Regions from separate parts of the Homo sapiens genome. Here region 1 is linked to region 2. The links are contacts of gene promoters, found by promoter capture Hi-C in blood cells and fetal thymus (Javierre and others, 2016). All regions are on one chromosome and are shown on one strand. Each heading gives the region's core, a stretch centred on a gene start or on the middle of the fragment in contact. The rest is flanking DNA. Distances are from core to core; before and after follow the strand shown.

The links. Contacts are between HindIII fragments. The CHiCAGO score rates a contact against its expected background, and 5 or more counts as called.
Region 1: a contact is called between a fragment that was not itself captured here and the fragment with the promoter of MYLK2 in region 2, in 1 of 17 cell types (neutrophils). The highest score is 5.9, in neutrophils.

The regions. Positions count from the first base shown.
Region 1 is chr20:32,780,061-32,787,075 of GRCh38, reverse strand. It overlaps DNMT3B (DNA methyltransferase 3 beta), which reads right to left. Exons shown (of 23, transcript NM_006892.4): 2 at 6,611-6,758; 3 at 5,662-5,723; 4 at 2,217-2,318; 5 at 449-574. The coding sequence starts at 6,752. Among named protein-coding and RNA genes, the nearest start is that of DNMT3B, 21 kb to the right of the region's middle. RefSeq lists enhancers at 1-103, 5,009-6,009, 6,010-6,510, 6,511-7,012, 7,013-7,015. The HindIII fragment of the contact is 3,406 bases long and covers 297-3,702 here.
Region 2 is chr20:31,817,402-31,823,946 of GRCh38, reverse strand. MYLK2 (myosin light chain kinase 2) reads right to left here and starts at 4,591. Exons shown (of 13, transcript NM_033118.4): 1 at 4,519-4,591; 2 at 4,315-4,414; 3 at 3,401-3,821; 4 at 2,210-2,508; 5 at 365-470. The coding sequence starts at 4,366. RefSeq lists enhancers at 1-181, 182-709, 1,177-1,236, 3,566-4,107 and a silencer at 827-876. The HindIII fragment of the contact is 6,141 bases long and covers 1-5,125 here.

The sequences.
Region 1 (7,015 bases), core at 750-3,249, 970 kb before region 2:
TATCCCTTAAGGGGGGAGAAAGTCATTGTAACTGTCCCAGAGACAGAAAGATGACAAAGGCACAAATGATGGGTAATGACGAGGGACTCTCAGAGAGTGAAATGTTGCCATACCCGCTAGGGTTGCCTCAAGACAGGTGAAGAAGACATGAGGGAGAAGACAGTTCTGGATGTCAGTGTTTTCTACCTTGTTTCCAAGTTAGAGCAAGAACCAAGTCAACAGGGAAAGCTTCCATTCCCAACAGAGTGTCATCTGAGATCAGACCAGGAGAGAAGCCAACAGGCTTACGGGAAGCTTACCCAGGAGAGAAAAGAAAAAGCAAGAACCTGAAAAGCAGTGTGAAAAAAGGACACAGATTATCTACCAGCCACAACCAGTAGTGCAGTGAGTGAGGCATATCTCCCAGTTAGAGACTGCGGGCAGGGGTCTGGGCATCTGGGGAACCAACCCTGGTAGCCGGGAACTCCACGGGGGACTCGTCCACATGGTTGCGGCCCTGCCGGCCTCGGGTGGAACGTGGGGAAGGCCTGTGCCTCTCCCGGCTGGAGACACTGTTGTTATTTCGAGTTCGGACCTAGAAGCAAGAGAGGACACTCACTGGGCCTTAGGTGACTGGAGGCCTGGGGTCTGGCGGGGCCAGAAGGATTAGGCCTTCAGGTGGCCAAGGAGACCTGGTAGCCAGCTTCAGGACAACTGGAAGTGAACAGGTGATGAGGTGGGACTCTGGACTGAGTCCAGCCAGAATTCCCCAGTTCTTGGAATAGAGGTGGTAGGGTGGCCAGCTAGGATGCCCGACAATTCCCAGCAGGTCCTGCTCTGCCTGTCACAGCAGACAGACATGGCCAGCTGAAATGGCACCTGCCAATTGGGATTGAAAAATAAAAATCTGGCCAAGCGCAGTGGCTCGCTCATGCCTGTGATCCCAGCACTTTGGGAGGCCAAGGCGGGCAGATCACTTGCAATCAGAAATTCAGGATCATCCTGGATAAAATGGTGAAACCCCATCTCTACTAAAAATGCAAAAATTAGCCAGGCATGGTGGTGGGTGCCTGTAGTCACAGCTACTCAGGAGGCTGAGGCAGGAGAATCACTTGGACCAGGGAGGCAGAGGTTGCAGTGTGCTGAGATCACGTCACTGCACTCCAGCCTGGGCAACACAGTGAGACTGCATCTCAAAAAAAAAGAAAAAAAAAGAAAGAAAGAAAGAAAGAAAAATTCGTGTTCACTCTAAAATAAACTTTTATGTCAAAGAAGCATAAGGCCAATTACTGGGTTCAGGAAGGCACCAGATCATCAAGATGGAATAGAATTCCTTAGGCTCCATGTTCATTGTCAAAAATGGCATGAATTTGGTTGTTGCAGAACCTGTGTCCAAATTATGCATAGAAGAGTTGATGTTTAACCTCAGTTAAGTTGCTGGAATCTTCTCTCATCTCCACAAAGGGGATGATACAGACCATATCCTGGGAAGGGAAGACTGTAACCCACACCTGGGATAGTAACTGTCAGTCTGGTCTCTAAAGGGCTGGGTGACCATAAGCAATAACTGCCTTCCCATTGCCATACCTCAAAACTCTGAGGCACAAAATCCACCCACAGAAATGGTGGACTCCCTAGGTCATTAGCAGCTGAGCCATCCACCCTGCAAACTCTATCACCCCTAGGCACCTCCAAGAGTGTTACAAGAAAGAACTTAAAAACCACCTGAAAGAAATGGCACATAGAGAAAACCTTCCAGCCGGGCGCAGTGGCTCACACCTGAAATCCCAGCACTTTAGGAGGCCAAGGTGGGTGGATCACCTGAGGTCAAGAGTTCGAGACCAGCCTGGCCAACATGGTAAAACTTCATCTCTACTGAAAATACAAAAACTGGCCGGGTGTGGTGGTAGGTGCGTGTAGTCCCAGCTACTTGGGAGGCTGTGGCAGGAGAATCACTTGGACCAAGGAGGCAGAGGTTGTTGCAGTGAGCTAAGATCACGCCATTGCACGCCAGCCTGGGCAACACAGTGAGACTCCGTCTCAGAAAAAAAAAAAGAAAAAAGAAAACCCTCCAACAATAGTCCAAGAGCCTTGCTTATATTTTCTAGTTTCAAAACATTTTTTCATCACTTTCTCTTAAAAGCTCCCCTAAGGAGCTATGCTATGTATGTAGCATGCTATGTATGCTATGTAGAGTGTTGGCCACAAGTGCTTTGGCTCGAGGTGTGGCTACTTACAGCTGGGCTTTCTGAACGAGTCCTGGTTTCCCGGAAGAGCTTTGGCATGACTGGGGTGTCAGAGCCATCCCCATCTTCCCCGTCGCCATCGCCTGTCAAGTCCTTTATAAGGAAACATGATGAACATGATGAAGACCCCAGGGTATCAGCAAGTCAAAGAAACAAGGCACCTGCAATATGAAAGACTGATCGCCTGTGCCTGGCAGGGAGACCGGGTCACTCATCACAACACACTGCATATGGGTGCAGACACAGACCAACCACGACAGATGCCCCGGAAGCAATGGCATGAAACCTGCACCATGTCATCAGGGCTTCCTCGTGCAGGCCTCACACCTCACACCAAAACCCAGCATAAGCCAAACACAAAAGCTGAAGCAGCGAGCAGCTAGGTCTGGCTGGAGTGTTAAGCACTTGCCTTCACTCACCAACTGTGTGGCTTTGAGTCCATTTCCCTCATTTTAAAATTGGAATAACAGTACTTCCCTCATAGCACAACAGGGTTACATCAAGAATCAAATAATATGCAGGGTGTGGTGGCTCATACCTGTAATCCCAACACTTTGGGAGTCTGGGGCAGACTGAGGTCACCTGAGGTCACCAGACCAGCCTGGCCAAGATGGTGAAACCCCATCTCTACTAAGAATACAAAAATTAGGCCAGGCGTGTAATCCCAACACTTTGGGAGGCCGACGCGGGTGGATCACCTGAGGTCAGGAGTTCAAGACCAGCCTGGCCAATATGGCGAAACCCTGTCTCTACTAAAAATACAAAAATTAGCAGGGCATGGTGGCATGTGCCTGTAATTCCAGCTACTCATACTCAGGAGGCTGAGGCAGGAGTACCGCTTAAACCTGGGAGGTGGAGGTTACAGCGAGCCGAGATCGCGCCACCGCACTCTAGCTTGGGGAACAAGAGTAAGACTCCATCTCAAAAAAAAAAAAAAATACAAATACAAATACAAAAGTTAGCTGGGCATGGTGGTGCACGCCTGTAAGCCCAGCTACTTGGGAGGCTGAGGCAGGAAAATTACTTGAACCTGGGAGGCGGAGGTTGCAGTGAGCCGAGATCGTGCCATTGCACTCCAGCCTGGGCGACAGACTGGAGACTCTGTCTCAAAACAAAACAAACAAACAAAAAGAAACGTGTGGGCAAGAGATTTCATTACTGTTTCTGGTAACTAGCTACCAGAAACAAAACAGCAGTGCTGAGCCTCTGATCCTGCAGCTGCCCTAATTCCTCCCAGGGCTTAGGTTCCCCACCTTCTGAGTCCCCTAAGTAGGTTGGCCACCACCAAGAGAATGGAAGCTGAGGGTGAGTTTTCATTGCCCAGGACTTTTATGACTGATACTGGCTCTGAGCAAAACCAACCCAATTGACAAACTCTACTAAGAATAATTAGGAAACAGACGGTGTCAGTAAAGGAAGGAACACAAAACAAGATGGGAAAGATCCAACCTTGGAAAAGTAAATGAAGTAGAAAGCTTGATAATGTAGCAAGTCTTAGAAGATATAATTGTTTGAAATTCATTAAAATAAGCTTAGACAAGTTTCTTCCAGCTTGTAAAAAAAATTCCTTGAGCCCACCTAATCCTAACATCAAAACCATAGATATATTTAAAGAAATAAAATGGGCCAGGTATGGTGGCTCACACTTGTAATCCCAGCACTTTGGGAGGCCGGGACAGGTGGCTCACTTGAGGCCAGGAGTTCGAGACCAGCCTGGCCAACATGGTGAAACCCCATCTCTACTAAAAATACAAAAAAATTGGCTGGGTATGGTGGTCCATTGCCTGTAGTCCCAGCTACTCGGGAGCCTGAGGCAGGGGAATCGCTTGGGCCTGGGAGGCAGTAAGTTGCAGTGAGCAGAGATCATGCCATTGCACTCCAGCCTGGGCAACAGACTTCATCTCAAAAATAAATGAATAAAAAAAAATACCCATTTCATTCATGAATACATGAATAAAATCAACTTCAAAATGCACCATAACCAAGTTGGACTCATTCCAGGAATAAAAAGACAGTTTGCTATACAGTAGTCTCCCCTTATCCAGGGGGGATACATGCAAGACCCCCCATGGCTGCCTGACACCTTGGAAGATGGAACCCTATATGTGCTCTGTTTTTGTCTATATCTACATACCTATGATAAAGTTTAATTTATAAATTAGGCACAGATTAACAACTAATAATAAAATAGAGCAATTACAATATACTGTTAATAAAAGCCATATGAATGTGGTTTCTCTCTCAAAATATCTTCTTGTACTCTATTCAGGGTTAATCTGTCCTTCCATGGTTTATGACCTAGTGTCTTCCTCCTTTGCACTTTTATGAAGGTAGGTTCTATTAGACATCATCTTCTGGAGGAGTCTGGTTTCACTGCAGTCTTAGTTTTGGATTGTTTCCTTTCTCAATCAACTTCAACTCTTCTGAAAATGTAGCAGCAGGTTTTTCATTGGCAAATGCAGCCTCTCCAGTCATTTTTATAGTTTTCAGTAGAAACCTATTCTTGAATCTATGTAACCATCCCTTACTTGAAGTAAATGGTTTGGTGTCAGGGGATCCCTTGCTATAGGCTCAATGCTCCCTGGCACAAAGCACTGCTGTCAATCAGAACATATTTCTGTTCATGTCTTCCACCTACAAATTTAATGCCTTTCCCATCTTAACTACACACTTATCACACAACATGGCCATAACTTTTGCAGTTTGAGGTGCAACAGTAAAACTAGCATGCATTTATTTTTCCTTCTTCATGATTTCACGGCTGGAAGATTTGTTCTTACCACAGATCTAACAACTTCAGCATATGATTTCTTCTTTCCTTTTTGAGAACTTTCACTTTTTCACTTAAAGGAAACACTTCATGGCTTCTCTTTGGCATAACTGAATTGCCAGCGTCATCACTCCTGCACTTTGGAGCCGTTATTAAGTAAAACAAGCACTACTTGAACACAACCACTGTGATACTGCAACTGATCTGATCACGGAGACGGCTACAAGTGACTAACAGGCAGGTAGCACCTAAGCATAGAGATGTTGGACAAAGACAGGACTGATCCTGGGCAGGACGGAGCAGGACAGTGCAAGATTCCATCATGCTACCAGAATGGCACTCAATTTAAAATGTATAAATTGTTTATTTCTGGGATTTACCATTTAATATTTTCCATTTAATACTTTCAGACGGCAGTTGACTGCAAGCAACTGAAATCGTGGAAAGCAAAATGACAGATAAGAGGGGACTACCATATTAGAGATTTAGCAATGTAACTGATCGTCCAGATTGAAAAAATAATGCCAAATATATGCAGAAAGCATCTAGCTCGGCAACCCTCCATACATTTGCAGATGCCAGTTTTTATGGGCCTCAGGCAGCCCACGTGATGAAAGCCAAAGACAAAGTCCCTGAGCCCTGAAAAAGGGAGAGCAGAGACCATACCTGTGTGTAGCTTAGCAGACTGGACACCTCCCTCTTGGAGAGTCGCGAGCTTGATCTTCGGCCTGTAGAGGAAACAGCCAGGAGTCTGTTTTGTGGGGGCAGGCACCAGTCTGGGGAACGGCCTTGCTAATAGGGGCTTTTCTCCGTGGCGTGGCCTGGGATCTCCCCTACACTATTGTCAGCCACAGGGATTTGCTCTCAGTCCGTCAGTATCGTTCATCTTCTCCACTGATTTTATTCCTAAGACAACAGAGCCCTGGGCCAGGCACGTGACAGGACCCAAACCAACACTGAAGTTACCAAGGGGAGCCCTCCGATTCCTTCCAGCAGGGTGCTGCCCATCCAGGGACCACTAACTACATTTCCAGGAACAATTCACTGCCTGCTGTGTCAGCCGCTTCTCAAGTGCTCCCATGTAGAGTGTGGCTATTGTGGGGAACAATGCAGAAATAGAACCCTTTCACGCTCGCAGGAAGTTCCATGGGATGGCACAGCTGAGAGGACAATGCAGGGCTTTCCAACCCAGCTGGGGCGGGATCCCAAGTGAGCTGGCTGGAGCTGCTCAGGGCAGGGTGGAAAGGAAGCACACTCCAGACCTCCCCCTCCCAACCCCAGCCCAGCTCTGAGTGGGGAGAGGGTCCCACTGCAGAAGGGCTCTCCAAGGGCCCATGCTGAGACCACCCCTGTCATGACTGGCAGAGGACAGGGAACCATCACCCTTGTGTCACGCTCAGAGTCCCAGCTGAGATGAGAGTCCCAAAGGGGAGGCCAAGGGCTGCGGGCAGGTGTGAAGGGCTCGACCCTGCATCCCTCCTTGCTAGAGCTCTCTTCCCTCCCGGGGAATTGTGGTGGAGGTTGTCAGAGACTCTCCCCAAAGCCTCCAGTTGTCTGCAGTGACCGCTCACTATGTCAGCGCCTGACACCACCCCAGTCCCCACTGCCCAGCCACCTCTGATCTCCGGGGTGCGGATAGCCTCCAGGATTGGGGGCGAGTCGGAGGACTGGTCGCTGCAGGCCCCGTTGACGAGGATCGAGTCTTCCCTCCCGCCGGCGTCCTCCTCTCCATTGAGATGCCTGGTGTCTCCCTTCATGCTTTCCTGTGGGAGAAGCCAGAATGGGTGGGGTGAAAGGGAAGCAGGGACATGAGAGGGACAGTGTTCCCCCGCCATGGGCTCTGTGTTCTCAGGCCAAGGCCCCAGGATGCATTCTTAGGGTGATGCTCTTGCCCAAGTACCCCACCCAGGCTGCCCCCCATAGCCTCCCCCTCACCAAGCTTGGAGGCTCAGGACTTGGTTCCATGTGGACAGGCTGTCCCGAAGGCTCAGACGCCAGCACCCAGGACAGAGTGGGGAGG
Region 2 (6,545 bases), core at 3,342-5,841:
GGCACCTTCAGGCAGAGGGAGGATCTGCAGAGGTATAAGACTGAGTCAGGGCTTTTTACAAAGCAGGAATCACCATGAGGGGGTCAGTGTGGTGCCTGGAGCTGAGACAGACAGAAAAATGCTGTGTATTTCCTACGGAAGCACTGAATGGCTGACGGTGCGTCTGAGTAAGTGACAGCAACACTGAGTGCACATCAGCATGTGACAGCTGCACACAGTGTGTGTCCCACACAGAGGTGAACATGTCCATGTGGCCATGTCTCAGCGGGGTGTGTGTCTGGGCCTTGCACAGGGGAAATGTGAAGCCACAGGAGCCCGGTGTACTCTCTGTCCATGAGTGCCCAGCTGGGGTCCCAGATCTCACCCTCCGAGCGCCTCCTTGGAGTTCATACTGAATTCACTGCTGACATTCCCGGTCCTCAGCTCCACCATGCGGTGAGGGAAGGGGGCCGGAGGTGGCGGGCAATCATCTGGGGGACAGAGCACAGCCCTCATGGTCAGTGCCAGGGGCTGCTGAGGATTCCCCTTGGCACCACCCCTCCTGCTGGCCTGGGCCCCATCTAGGGAAGTTAAGTTCACCAAGTGATACCTGGGGGACACCTGGCTCCAGGATAGGGGCTATGGGGCCCAGTTTCCAATATCAGTTCTGCCACCAACACAACACTCCTATCAGGGAGGACCAGCTTCTCCTGGCAGAACAAACGGGATGGGAGCTTGGACTTTTTGGACCCTCTGCATTATAAGACACAAGGACTCCATCCCAAGCTATCTGCATTTCCACCAAAAACAATCAAACACAGCAGCTATAAAGCGGAATGCCAGGCAGTGGGGTTGCTATGTCTGAATAATGGGGTAGGTGGTGGGACCTGCCCACCCTCCATCCTAATAACACCGCAATCTGGCCAGACCACCCATGGCGGGGCGGGACCGGGGACCGTGCTGTTTGGTGGGGAGAGGGCGCCACCTAGCGGCAAGTGTGGGGAACCGCTCGCCCTGAAGGCTGGCAGGCCGGCAGGCGGTCATCAGGAATGGAAACCTCTTTATAAATAGCAAGAGGCGGCAGGGAAGCCGGGCTGGTGATAAATCAAACGGCCTTTGGAGGTGGTTCAGATCCTGTCACTCTAGGATGCGATTTCGGGGCGGGGCGGAGGTCTCTGCGGCTGCTAGGGGCGGAGGCAGGGCTCCTGGCTGCCGCCCAGCCGCCAGGTCCTCCCACCCTGTCTGGGTGGCACGGTGCCGCTCACCAGGCAGGCTGGCGGGTCTCCCAGGGCACTTCAGCCTGGAGGCAGGGGGGTGTCAGGACACTCTGGGTTCTCCTGACCCCATCTCACCCCACCCCCAGCCCTGCCGCACCCCTGCCCAGGCCCTTTCCCTATTCACCTGCTGGCCAAGCTCACTCACACTCAGTGCTCTCTGCAGCCCATGAACAAGCCACGGGCTGCTTGTCTAATCATCAATGAAGGCCACTCCACAGTCCTGCCCCATTGCACATGCCCAGCTTCCTTGGTCACTGCTCCCACACACAGGCACCTGTGCTCCTCAGCGCATGAGCCCTCTATAGCTCCCACGACCCCACCCCACTATACAGTTTAGCTACTAAGCCTGGCATTTGAGCCCTTCTACAGATTGACTCCAAATTCCATTGCCCAGGGAGTTTGTGTTGCTCCAATAATCTGCCTGATTTTTCTTTTTTTTAACTTCATTTTAGTCAAAGTAGAAAAAACTCAAAAGTGGGTTCTGGAGTCTGGGTGGCCTGACAGGTTCAAATCCTGTCTTCACTGGATATGTTTGGGCACTTCATTTTCCTTTTTCTGAGCCTTCCTTTCCCCATCTATCAAAAGGGAATACTAAATTTAAAAATAAAAATACATCTTAAAAAATAAGATTGAAGAAAGCCAGGTATGGTTGTACACGCCTGTAGTCCCAGCTACTCGGGAGGCCAAGGTGGGAGGATCACTTGAGGCTGGGAGTTTGAAGCCAGCCTGGGCAACGTAGCAAGACCCTATCTTTTAAAACAAATAAACAAATGAATAAACATACGTTAAAAAAGGAATACTTTCTGGAGTTGTGTGACCCTTAGATGAATGGGCCTGGGTAAGGCTTGGCTCAGGGCAGTTCAGACCTCCGAATAGGTAGACTTGGGACTGACAGCCCCCTTCCCTCCCCCTGGCCCCAGGGCAGCCCCAGCCCCCACCTGCCCCTGGCCTACCCAAAATCTGGAAGCAGTCCTCCTCCCTGGCTGTGAGACAGAGGGCCTGCCCCACCTCGGATTTCTCTGAGGGAACAGCCTGGAACTCAATCCCCCTCGAGGTGTCCCCTTGCATCTTAGCCTGGCCAGCCTGGCCTGGGGTTTTCTCTCCCACTTCCTTCTGGCTCTCTGCCAGGATGTTCTTTCCTTCTTCTGCCTTGGCTGGCCTGGGATCCGTGGGGCTGTGGGTCATGGGCACCCCTTCAAAGGTGAGCTCTGATGCCTCGCTTGGGGGCTTCTTGGCCAGCAGCTTCTCAGAACTAGAAGGTGAGAACACAGAGGTGAAGCCCTCAGCGGCCACAGCCTGTGGCATCAGGCAAGTCTCAATGCAATCTGCAGAGCTAATCCAACCCCACCCCAAATGCATGGTGTAATACAGCCAAATTCACCTGGTACAAAATTAAGGGATGTTCATGGCTGTGGTCATTATCTTGACTACCAACACACTAATACATCATTAATAACTATTAATAGGATTGTTGATATGGTTAATCATCATGTGGATACAACTAGGGAGTTATGTAGCTCTTGATTCATAAAATCTGTTGTGATATAATTGATACATAATTATCAAAGTGATATGGTAAATGTTCTTATTGTGGCTTACAATATATCATTAATGACCTCATTAGCATTCAGGTAAGTATAACTGATGGCATCACACATGTGCTATATTATGGTTATGAAAATATTATCAATGATCCTCCAATCTGGTTATTAGTCATCTTTTCATATCTTACCAATAATTATATTAAGAAGAACAGGAAAATACTGGATGTCCTAGGAAATACACAGCCTTTTGCCTGACACCTTTAGCCTTTCTGCCTGCCATCTCAACCCTGCCCTTGGCTAGACCCAAGCCCATGGAGTAAGGGGAACTTCGGACCCCAGAAGCCTAGAGAAGATATGTTCAACCTAGGCAGTCTTTGAGGGTCTCTCTTACTCCAGTCTTGTATGAATTGTGGCAGGGTTCTGGTTTCTGCAGGGGACAAGGCGGTAGAGGCAATTCACAGGACAGAGGAAACTGAATGTCAGAACTACACTCCCCAGCACTGAATGTGATGATAACCATGCCTAAGACAAGGGAATTAAGCAGGACCCCTAGGGACAGAACCACAGGACCCCTCCCCACTCCCAGGAGGGGATATTCACCTGGAGATGATGGCAGGACAGCTGGGGCTATGCAGAAAGGCAGGTGAGCCCCTCCTGGCTGCTGCTTGGCCCTCTGCTGCCTTCTTGCCCACCCTGGGCTTTCCAGGATCCTGGCTGCCTGAGGCTCCCTGCTCAGCCTTGGGCTTCTTGACGCTGGTCTCAGGTGTCGCAGTCTGCTGGGGCAGGGCTGCCGGGGGCCCAGCACTGCCCTCCGCGGGCCCCCCGCCCCTGTCACCCTCTCCTTTGGGGCCTTGGCTGCTAGTTGAGGGTTGGGCCAGGGTACCATCCCCTTTCTCTGAGGCAGGGGCTTTGGCATCTTTCTTCAGGGTGGGTGGATCCGGAGCTTTCTTTGGGTCTGGGGGGCCAGGGTCTTTCCCTGCAGCCAGGGGTCTTTCACCTGTGGGACCTTTAGGTGCCTTGTCTGCAGAGGAGGTGAGACACCCATCAGGATCCACCCTCCTTTCCTTCCCTCTCACCCAGGCTGGGCAGAGACCAGCTCTGGGCCCAGGTTCCCACCCAGGCAACAACTTGCAAATGCTTGTCCCACTGAGTCTCTGGGGCCACTTGATGGCCCCTAGAGATGAGCTGCCACGACCTTGGAGGGCCTCTGTGGGAGGCTTCCAGCCCTTTGGGTGGGCCTTGGTGGCCCCCATCATCCTTGCCCTGACTGTTTAGGTGCATCCCCAGCAGCCATCCCTGGTGGCTTCACATTTTCCTGGTCTCTCCAGGAAGGGCTTCATACAGGCCCTGGACCCAGCCCAACCCTAGCCAGAGATTCCTCTGATTTCTGGGTCCCCCGTGCACCATGCAAACAAGGCTGGGGCACAGAACTCCCACTGAGGAACCTGCCCAGTCCTGGATTCAAAACCCCCCTTCCCAAGCTCCTCCCTCCATCTCCTGCCCCAGCTTGGCACCTGTTGATGGGTTCTGAATTCCCAGCTCAACTGCTCCATTTTCTGTCGCCATGAGGTAGGGAGGCGTGTGCTGCTGCTTGTCTAACTCAAGTCTTTCTAGCTGCAGAAACAAGAGTGGAGTGTGTCAGGCTGTCCAATTTCCCCTCTCGTCTGGCTGCAGTGAGACAGGAAGCCGAGGCCTGCTAACTGAGGGGAGAGAGGTACCTGGAGCAAAGAGGGGCAACCTGGTTGCCGTCTGTCTCCCAGCGGCTGCTCAGGAGCAGTCCTGGGCAGTTGTAAGGGATTGGGCCGGGTGGGCAGAGGCGGAGGCAGGGGTGTGGGCAGTGGAGGCGGGGACGGAGGAGAGGATCTCTTACACCAGGGGCCATGCAGCTGGGACTGCCGCCACCTGTCACTCTTGGCCCCAGTTCAGAGGACACGGCATTCTTCCCATGGCCCGACTGGGGGGAGAATGATGTTGGAACAAGCGAGAAAAGGGAGGGGTATCTGGGACGCTGGGGGAGCAGCCCTTTCCCCAGGCCTTGCTCAGTATCCCTGACTTGGACAGGATCAGAGGGGGCCTGGAAGAAGGGGAGTACTCAGGCAGGCCTGAAGGGCAAGAGTATGCCCAGGCTGAGCCCTGGTCTGCCCACCTGTGTGCCACATCTCCTGGGGCTCCCCAGAACCTGGCTAGAGCCACAAAGTCCCAGGGATAATCTCCCTGACCCTAGTGCCTAGCTCTGTGCCTCGACATCTGGACCTGCTTGCGTCACCTTTGGGTAAGAAATTGTCTCGGGGGCACTTTCTCAACATGTCCATAGGCCTGGAAGCTTTTTCTTTTGAAACTGTCCTTTTCTTGGGCTCCTGGGGACACGGAGGCTGCCCTGAGTAGCCATGGGAGATGGAGAGTGCTCTGTGCCCCTCCCCCAAGCTCATCCAGTTCTCACCCATGACCCACATGGAAGAAGGGGGCTGGCAGAGAGTCTTTTCAAGGATGCTCCACTACAGGGGTGGCCCGAGGGGCACTCTAGCCTGAGGTGTTCGAGATAGGATGAGGACAGCTATGATCCAAGGAGCCTTCCATCACCCAGAGCCTTTCTCAGAGGGGGCTCTTGAGAACTGGCCAGACCTGGGTGCATTAGAAGTAGCTGTAGAGGCCAGAAGCAGTGGTTCACACCTGTAATCCCAACACTTTGGGAAGCTGAGGCAGGAGGATCACTCGAGGCCAGGAGTTGGAGACTGGCCTGGGCAACATAACAAGACCCCGTCTTTATATTTTAAAAAGTAAGATAAAATGAAGTAGCTGTAGAGTGGTTATCCAGGTTCAGGTCCTGACTGCAGCAAACCAGTCACTTCACTCCATGGCCTCGGCTCCTCTGTCAAATGGGAAGCCATTGGAAAAACGCTTGATGAGAGAAAGGAGGGAGAATGCAGCCCCTCTAAGCAGTGGGGAAATAGGAACCTGTAAAAAAAGATTGAGGAAGCTGTTAATGAACTGACAAAAAGTGACCACCAAAGTGGGGGGAATAAAAAAAGCAAGATGCAAAGTAGCATGTAGAGTGTGCTATCCATTTGTGCAAAAAAAAAAGGGAGAATAATATATGAATAATATATATTTCACTTTATGCACATAAGAATTTATTTGGTAGGATAAGCAAGGAACTGGGCCCCAAGGGTGGGAAGGAGACATCACTGTATATACTTTGACTTTTCTGTTTGAACCATGAACTATGTGAACAGGCTACTATTCAAAATGAGTGGGATGTTTTGTTTTGTGAGCAAATGTCAAGGGTTTTTGGTATAAGCTGGTAAAAACCATAGTTGGAGCTCTTTCCCCAGTCTTGACTACTTTTGCTCTGCCTGGCCCTCCTCTCCAGGCCCGGTCCTCCTCTCCTCCATTTCTCTTCTTTAAGGTCCAGTTAACAGTCTGCCTCTTCCAGGAAGCAAAAGTAACAGCTGATGCCTATACGGTACTGACCACGTGCCTGGCCTCGCTCTGCATGCTCTCATGTTGATCCACCCAAATGGTCTTCAGAAGAACCCAGTGCGGTAGGTACTAGAGAGATGGGGAAACCAAGGCATGGAGAGGTTATGTAATTTACTCAAAGTCACAGCTTGGAAGGGGCTGAACTGAGCTCTGAACCCAGGTCCCCTGCAGAAAGGGAGCTTCCACTTGCTGAGCACCTGTCATTCGTTTTAGCCATCTTGCCTTTAAGCATCATCTTGATGATAACTCTGTGGGGAGCGCTCAT